2 separate regions of the Homo sapiens genome follow, and region 1 is linked to region 2. Evidence: promoter capture Hi-C in human tissues and cell types (Jung and others, 2019). All regions are on one chromosome and are shown on one strand. The core of a region is centred on a gene start or on the middle of the fragment in contact, and the rest is flanking DNA. Distances in the headings are between cores, read along the strand shown. Region 1 overlaps TMEM150B (transmembrane protein 150B). Region 2 holds the start of SSC5D (scavenger receptor cysteine rich family member with 5 domains).

Region 1 (3,967 bases), core at 290-2,789, 170 kb after region 2:
ATAATTTTCTGCCAGCCCCTCTCCCCAGCTTATTTAATGATGAAATTACTGGTCCAGGCGCAGTGGCTCATGCCTGTAATTCCAGCACTTTGGGAGGCGGAGGCAGGCGGATCGCCTGAGGTGAGGAGTTTGAGACCAGCCTGGCCAACCAACATGGTGAAACCCCGTCTCTCCTAAAATATACAAAAATTAGCCGGGCATGGTGGCAGGCGACTTAATCCCAGCTACGTGGGAGGCAGAGGCAGGAGAATCATTTGAACCTGGGAGGTGGAGGTTGCAGTGAGCCGAGATCGAGCCATTGCACTCAAACCTGGGGGATAAGAGTGAGACTTCTCTCAAAAAAAAAAAAAAAAAAAAAAAAAAAAAAGAAGAAGAAGATGAAATTACTGGCCGGGCTCTGTGGCTCACGGCTGTAATCCCAGCACTTTGGGAAGCCAAGGTAGGTGGATCACCTGAGGTCAGGAGTTGGAGACCAGCCTGGCCAACACGGTAAAACCCCATCTCTACTAAAAATACAAAAAATTAGCTAGGGGTGGTGGCAGGTGCCTGTAAGCCCAGCTACTCAGGAGACTGAGGCAGGAGAATTGCTTGAACCCGGGAGGCAGAGGTTGCATTGAGCCGAGACCATGCCATTGCACTCCAGCCTGGGCTGCAAGAGTGAGACTCAGTCTCAAAAAAGAAAAGAAAAGAAAAAAGAAATTAGTGAGGCTGGGCACAGTGGTTCATGCCTGTAATCCCAGGACTTTGGAGGCTGAGGCTTGAGCCCAGGAGTTCAAGACCAGCCTGGACAACATAGCAAGACTCTGTCTCTACAAAAAATAAAGAATTAGCCAGGCATGGTGGCGTGAACCTGTAGTCCCAGCTATGCAGGAGGCTGAGGTGGGAAGATGGAGGATTGCTTGAGCCCAGGAGGTCGAGGCTGCAGTGAGCTGTGATTGTGCCACTGCACTCCAGCCTGGTGAACAGAGTGAGACCTTGTCTCCAAAAAGAAATGACTGAGATTTACTCATTCTTCATGTTAGGCACATTGATTGAGCATTTGGCAGCCATTGGCAGCAGGCTTTCCATTTTGTACATGACTTCATTCCATCTCCATGAAGACTCTAGCTAGGTCACTCATTGCCCATGGACCACAGAGAATATATTTATATATATACATATATTGGAGATGGAGTCTTGCTCTGTCACCCAGGCTGGAGTGCAGTAGTGCGATCTTGGCTCACCGCAACCTCCGCCTGCTGGGTTCAAGCGATTCTCCTGCCTCAACCTACCAAATAGCTGAGACTACAGGCACCTGCCACCAGGCCTGGCTAAATTTTTTTTGTATTTTTAGTAGAGATGGGATTTCACCATATTGGCCAGGCTGGTCTTGAACTCCTGACCTCAAATGAGCCACCCACCTCAGCCTCCCAAAGTGCTCCACAACTATTTATTTATTTGAGACAGAGTCTTGCTCTGTGGCCCAGGCTGGAGTGCAGTGGTGAGATCTTGGCTTACTGCAACCTCCATCTCCCGGGCTCAAGTGATTCTCCTAACTTCAGCTTCCAGAGTAGCTGGGATTACAGGCGCTCACCACCACGCCCGGCTACTTTTTGCATTTTTAGTAGAGATAAGGTTTCACCATGTTGGCCACGCTGGTCTCAAACTCCTGACCTCAAGTGATCTGCCTACCTTGGCCTCCCTAAGTGTTGGGATTACAGGCATGAGCCACTGTGCCCAGCCCTCAACCTATTATTATTATCTTGCTCCTCTAAGGAGTATTTTTAGACATTTCCCCCTGGTTCTCCCCTCTTCCCATGAAATTTTAAGTATTTATTTTATTTATTTATTATTTGTTTATTTATTTTTGAGATGGGATCTTGCTCCGTTGCCCAGGCTGGTGTGCGATGGTGCCATCTCAGCTCACTACAACCTCTGCTTCCTGGGCTTAAGTAATCCTCCAGCCTCAGCCTCCTGAGTAGCTGGGATTACAGGCCTGAGCCACCATGACCGGCTAATATTTGTATTTTTTTTTTTCTTGAGATGGAGTCTCACTCTTGTTGCCCAGGCTGGAGTGCAATGGTGCGATCTTGGCTCACTGCAACCTCTGCCTCCTGGGTTCAAGTGATTCTCCTGCCTCAGCCTCCCAAGTAGCTGGGATTACAGGTGCCCGCCACCACGCCTAGCTAATTTTTTGTATTTTTAGTAGAGACAGGGTTTCACCATGTTGGCCAGGCTGGTCTCGAACTCCTGACCTCAAGTGATCTACCCGCCTTGGCCTCCCAAAGTGCTGAGATTACAGGTGTGAGCCACTATGCCTGGCAATATTTGTATTTTTTGTAGAGACGAGGTTTTGCCATGTTGCTCAGGTGGGTCTTGAACTCCTGAGCTCAAAGTGATCTGCCTGCTTCACCTTCCAAAGAGCTGGGATTACAGATGTGAGCCACCGCACCAGGCCAAAATTTTAAGTATTTTAAAATTTTAATGGAATATGTGCTATGTATCCGTGAGTCACATACAATTGTAATATTTAAGAATTTTTCACCTGCAAGACCAATTTTTGGGGAAATGTCTGTCCCCCGCCTTGAGAATGCAAGATTTATCCCACTCATATTTACTGAGCATCTACTATGTGCCCATCACTGTTCTAGGAATTGAGGCCACAGCAGTGAACAACAGATTTCAATGCCTGCTCTCGTGGAGCTGACAATAGCTGATGTGCTTAATAAGCCCATCACTGGGTATGGAAAGTTGGTGACCACTGTCTACTGCATTGGTGAAGGGCCCTGGCCCCTCTGGTGCCCCTTACCCTCCTTCCCAGAGTCTCCCTCCCAACTTCTCCCTTCTCCTCCCAGGAAAAGAACCAGCGGCCTACGCACTTGGCAGGGGCCTTCCTTGCCTTCATCTTGGGTAACGTCTACTTCTGGCTGCAGCTCCTCCTGTGGAGGCTGAAGAGGCTGCCCCAGCCCGGGGCTGCCTGGATTGGGCCCCTCCGCCTGGGCCTCTGCAGCGTCTGCACCATCCTCATTGTGGCCAGTATCCTTCTTGTATCCGGGGTAGGGCTTGGAGGTGGCTCTTCACTGGAGTTGGTCTTCCTGCCTGGCTGTCTGTCACTGGGGATGTCTCTTCCTTTCTCTGGGCCTCACTCTTTGCACAGGATTATGGCTTTGTCATCGAGAATGCCGACTTCGGGGTCAGGTTGCCCAGGTTGGAAGCCCCTGTCCTCCACACAGCAGCTGGGGGAAACTTCCGCGGGCTGTTACTTCTCGGTGTCAATGGTTTCGTCATCCCTCAAATGTGGATAACGACAGGGCTGACCTCAGGGTTGTGGAGTGGATAGGATAATAGGCATACGGTGCTTAGATCTGTGCCTGGCACATAGCGAGTGACCAATAGACGCTGGAAGAATGATATACTAAGAACAGTCCCTTGAGGGCACCTGCTCTGTGCCAGGAATCATGTGGTTACGAGTGAAGACGGGTTCAGACAGGAAAAGTCTTTCGGCCAGGATGCGCGTGAGGTTCTGCAATGGAGCTGGTGATAGGCTGCAGGTGGCTTGCGCAGGCTCTGAGAGGCATTCTGTGAACTGCTCGTCCGAACTCCATGTCCTGTGATATCATGTGAGTAGCTTGAAATAGCCATCATGGGAGTATTTATACCACTGTAATTGGCAGATGCCACCAACCAGAGCCAGTTGTTAAACATTTACTAGCACACCACATGAGGCTTGACTCAATTCCAACTCATTTCTGAGCCATCCCCAGAACCGAGGCACTTTCCACCAGCACAGTGTACTTCTAGATGGGTCAGGTCACTCTCTGAGGCCTCAGTTTCCATATCCATAAAATGGATTTGCTTTTATCATCATGATTATTTTTATTTATTTATTTTTGAGACAGAGTCTTGCTCTGTCGCCCAGGCTGGAGTGCAGTGGCGTGATCTCAGCTCACTGCAACCTCCGCCTCCCGGGTTCAAGCGATTCTCCTGC
Region 2 (4,398 bases), core at 1,851-4,350:
TTCCCACCAGCTCCCTTGAGGATGGGGAAGGAGCAGAGGTTGGCCACAGAGACAAGAGGTCTCCGAGACGGTCCCCTGCCATGGCCAGCCCGGTGGCAGAGGGCAGGCAGGGCTTCTTGCGTTCCAGGACTTGGCTCAAGCCTGAGGCAGGCATTCTTAGCTCCATCGCTCCTTCAGGAAAACTGAGGCTTAAACAAACGGTCACTGGCCTAGGCCCCGGGACAGGGCTGAGCACTAGCCCAAGCCTCAAGCCTGCTCCTCCCATTCCTGGCAAGGAGAACGGCAGGAGCTGTGGAAGGAGGGGCTGGAGAGCGTGGTGAGTGGGCGCTGGGCATGCAGAGAGCAGGCGGGCAGGAGGCAGAGCTGGGAGCAGGCCCGCTGCAGCTTCCTGGAGGGGCAAGAGGGAGCTGGGGTCTGAGGAAGACAGGAGGGGGCCAGGCCCCAGCCCGACGTACCGGTGCAGACCAGCCCCGCATCCTCGCTGTGGTCACAGTTGCTCCGGCCCCAGGGGCTTCGGGGGCAGTCTCGGAGGGCCTGTTCTCCTCCTCCACACCCCACATCGTCCATCCACACGGGCCCTGCACCAGGCCCGAATCTGGCACCGCCGGGGGCAGCCAGCGCCCCCCCACAGCCCAGTTCCCGGCAGGCTACAGCAGCGTCGCGCAGGTCCCAGCCATCGTCACATACGGTGCCCCAGCGCCCGCCGTGCCAGACCTCCAGGCGTCCGGCGCACCTGTGGGGGCCAGAGACCAGGCGCAGCCGCTCTGTGGGGTGAGCAGGGAGGGGACGGTGTGGCCAGTGAGAAATGATTCAAACACCCCTTCCTCGATTTCCACCTGGGGAAACAGGCCTGAGGGAGCGGTGGCCTGAGATCTGTCCGCCGGCAGCCCGTGAAGAGGTGAGTCCACGACCTGAGCGGGCCAGGACACCTGGGCCTCCTGACAGGGCAGGAAGAAGAGGGGAGACCAGGCCTGGCCGTCTAAATCCCCGGGGGAGGGACGCGGGGAACACTGGGATCCCTCCAGGGCCCCGGCTAAGGAGAGGGCGCCCGCAGGTCCTCAGTTTTTCTGGGCCCTGGGCCTCACAGCAACCAGCCTTGGGGTCGGGGGAGCCTGCAGGGAGCTTACCTTGGCGGGGGGCTCCTGTCGTCAGCAGAGGGGCCCGGGTGGACTTGGCCTGCTTGGGCCGGGGGCTCTTCTTCCGGGAGGCGTTCTGGGGGTTCCCAGCTGGGCGGGGGGCTGGGAGTGGAGACAGCCAGGGGTCAGGAGCTGAGCCCCTCATCCTTCCTCCCACCTGGGGGCCCAGGCCTCCGTCTCTGAGGGTCTGAAGTGATGGAGGACTCCCTAGGCTATGAAGGAGACGGGGCGGGGCAGGGGGCGGGCTGTGTGTCCCCTGGGAGTTCATACTGCAGAGGTCCCTCTCCCCTCGGTGGGGGCAGGAGGGCACGCTGGGTGGGGGTTGGCAGGGCAGTCCCTCTCCCCTCGGGGGGGGCAGGAGGGCACGCTGGGTGGGGGTTGGCAGGGCAGTCCCCTGGGCTCACCATGTGTCACCAGGGGCTCCTCCGTGCTGGGGCTCAGCTCCAGCAACAGCCCTGGCCAGGGAGCCCCATCCAGGGGAGATGTTGAGTCGTCCCTGGAGTTAGCCACACGCTGACCTGCGGCGGGGGGGCAGGGACAGAAGCTATGAGGAGAGGAGGGGAATCCAGGCCATTTGGGTCCCTGGAAGAGGGAGTTAGCCACCTGGCTTTGGAGGGGATGGGAGGTTGGGTGTCTCTGAACTGCTGAACACTCAGACTTGCTGGGGCTAAGGACTTGGGGTTCCTGGGTCATCTCCAAAGGAGCTCCCCCTGAAGGAGCAGCCAGGGTGTCCTCACCTGCGCAGACGACGCCCGCGTCCTCCTCGTGGGAGCAGATGTGGGCCTTCCAGCCCCGGTGGTGGCAGAGGCCCAGCTGCCCCTCGTTGCCCCGGCAAGCCAGCTCGCTGAGCCACACAGGCCCTGCCCCCTCCCCGAAGAAGGCGCCTCCCGGGGCGGCCAGTGCCCCTCCGCAGCCCAGCTGCCGGCAGGCCACGGCGGCATCGCGCAGGTCCCAGCCGTCATCACACACGGTGCCCCAGCGCCCGCCATGCCAGACCTCCAGGCGGCCAGCGCACCCATGGGGGCCATCGGCCAGGCGCAGGCGCTCTGAGGGTTGGAGGAATGGCTGTGACTGGGGAGGGGCATCCTGGGGGCCCCAAGGCCAGGGCAACTGTAGGGGCAGGTGGCTGTCCTGCAGGTACTGTCTGTAGGCCAGTGGCCCTGCTCACTGGCCCCTGGGCCCAGACTCCTGGGTGCTCAGAGAGATGCGGCCAGACACCTGGGGGATTCCCTTGCGGAGCTGGGGCCAAGGTCACAGTGGAATTCGGATGGGCCGGGGACCCAGTGGGGGTGAGGCCAGGCCTGGATGGGCAGAAGGGGGAGGCCTGGGGGGGGGGGCGGGCAGATGGGAGGAGTCTGGGCACTTACCAACAGCCTGGATCCCCACCAGGGCCGCTGGAAGGGAGGGCGGAGGGTGGGGCAGTGTGAGGGGCAGGCCGGGGGTGGCCCTTTCTCCAGCGCAGGCCCCTCATCTTGAATACCCCAACACACACACACACACACACACACACACACACACACACACACATGGGCTTGGCTAAAGGTCAGATGTCTGGGAGATCCCCCGCAGGGTCAGGGCTGGGGGGCGGGCAGGGGGCAGGTCCCTTGGGCTTCTGGGCTGGCAGAAGGCTGGGCAGATTGAGCAGGGATCCTCAGAAGGGATGTCAGGGTATGCAGGAGCACCAGCGACCAGTCCCGGAAGTTTGAGTCCCTAAACTGGACAAGCTAAGGGGTCAGAGGTGGGGGCCTAGGCCCCCCGAGTCCCCAAGGAGAATGGATCACTCACCAAGGAGGCAGGCCAAGACCCTCATGGTTGCAGCCAGGGCAGGGGATGGGGTGAAAGGGGAAGGAGAGCGGGGAGAGAAGAGGAGGAGGCAGCTGGGGAGAGAGGGAGGGAGGGAAGTGCCTGCTGGAGGCGCCCAGGCCCGAGGAGGAGCAGGCAGGGCTGGACGCTTTGCCAGGAGGAAGAAAGAGGCTGCAGGGAGGCGGCAGGGGACGGTGGGGGGGAGGGGGGGCGGGAGGGGGCTGGCCGTCTGCTGAGGCATGGGGGGGAGGGGGGTGGCGGGCGGGAGGGAGGGTGTCCAACTGCAGACACCCACACGGGAGATGGAGACGACGGCCAGGCAGGCTCCAGCCAGCAAAGTGCTGTGCCCAGAGATGCTTAGGGGGTGGCCGGCTGCAGGAAGGCACAGGACAGGGGTTGGGGGACGTGTGCGGGGGGGGCGCAGCATGAGCGGGAGGGGCGCCCACCTGCTGTCTCCCCTCTTGTCTGGTCAGGGAAATCCAGTGAGACCACTGCTAGGGTTGGGGGCTGGGCAGACCTGGGGTTCTTGGTGCAGCAGCAAGAAGATTTGCAGCCAGACACCAGGAGGGACTTCCTGGGTTAGGAAAAGAGACTGAAAGACCCGGCCCTCCAGTCCTCCCACTCACTGGTGGATCTGAGTGTGAAGCCCCCAGTCCCCAGCTGAGAGAGGAGAGGTTGAACTTCACTGTCCCAGAGGGAGCTGGGGTCGGGGGATAAGCAGCACAAGGGTCAAGGCTTGGGAAGGGGAGGGGCTCCACACACTCTTCCACACACTCACACACACACACACACACCCCACTGCCTGCACACCAGGCAGCTGTGAGGCGGAAAAAATTCGGTAATGGGGAGCGTGACTCAGAAGGGCTGGCAGGGCCTCGGGCTGCCCCTGAGCTCACAGCCTCCCCTTCTCCCAGTCCAGCACCGTCCCCCAACAATTAATGTTAACTGGGGAAAGGAGAAGCCAGACAGAAATGGGCGGGGGTGTCCGGAGACAGACTGGGAAAGCCATCAGAGAAGAGACAGGCACACAGCGGTTTCAGGCTTTATTAACAAACGGTGTAAAAAACCAGACGGATCTGGAGGAAGGGACAGGGCTGCCCGTCTCAGCTCTCAACCTTCCCAGAGAGGGGCCAGGCCTGGCAGCCCTGTGCGTCGCGCCTCCTAAGCAGTCAACCTTGTCCCCTCCAAGGACAGGCATCTGACCCAATCCAGGTCCCAGGGAGGCGGAGTCGCAAACCCTAACTCTGGGGTGTATTCTGCTCGGCCTCCTCTCCCCCTCCCCAGATAGCTCTCCCAGCCTGGGGCACGGACAGCACAGACTTTGCAGACATCACCCGGGGAGGTTTCTCAGTGCAGACAGGAGCTGAGGTAGGGGTTGGAGAGGCTGACCTCGAGAGGCCCCCGAGGGCCAGGAAGGAAAAGGAGTCATTCCACTCTGAGAAGCTCAAACACAACAGAC

Evidence for each region. The method cuts DNA at HindIII sites, captures the fragments that hold promoters and counts their contacts. A contact is called where the count stands out against the background at its distance.
Region 1: a fragment that was not itself captured here is called in contact with the fragment with the promoter of SSC5D in region 2 in 3 of the 25 tissues and cell types used here (dorsolateral prefrontal cortex, mesenchymal stem cells and spleen).

Annotation. Positions count from the first base shown.
Region 1 is chr19:55,315,834-55,319,800 of GRCh38, reverse strand. It overlaps TMEM150B (transmembrane protein 150B), which reads left to right. Exons shown (of 8, transcript NM_001282011.2): 7 at 2,835-3,015. Among named protein-coding and RNA genes, the nearest start is that of TMEM150B, 7.5 kb to the left of the region's middle. The HindIII fragment of the contact is 7,983 bases long and covers 1-3,967 here.
Region 2 is chr19:55,487,138-55,491,535 of GRCh38, reverse strand. SSC5D (scavenger receptor cysteine rich family member with 5 domains) reads right to left here and starts at 3,100. Exons shown (of 14, transcript NM_001144950.2): 1 at 2,922-3,100; 2 at 2,504-2,530; 3 at 1,874-2,182; 4 at 1,541-1,654; 5 at 1,128-1,238; 6 at 456-764. The coding sequence starts at 2,946. NAT14 (N-acetyltransferase 14 (putative)) reads right to left here. Exons shown (of 3, transcript NM_020378.4): 3 at 3,970-4,398. The HindIII fragment of the contact is 17,473 bases long and covers 1-3,786 here.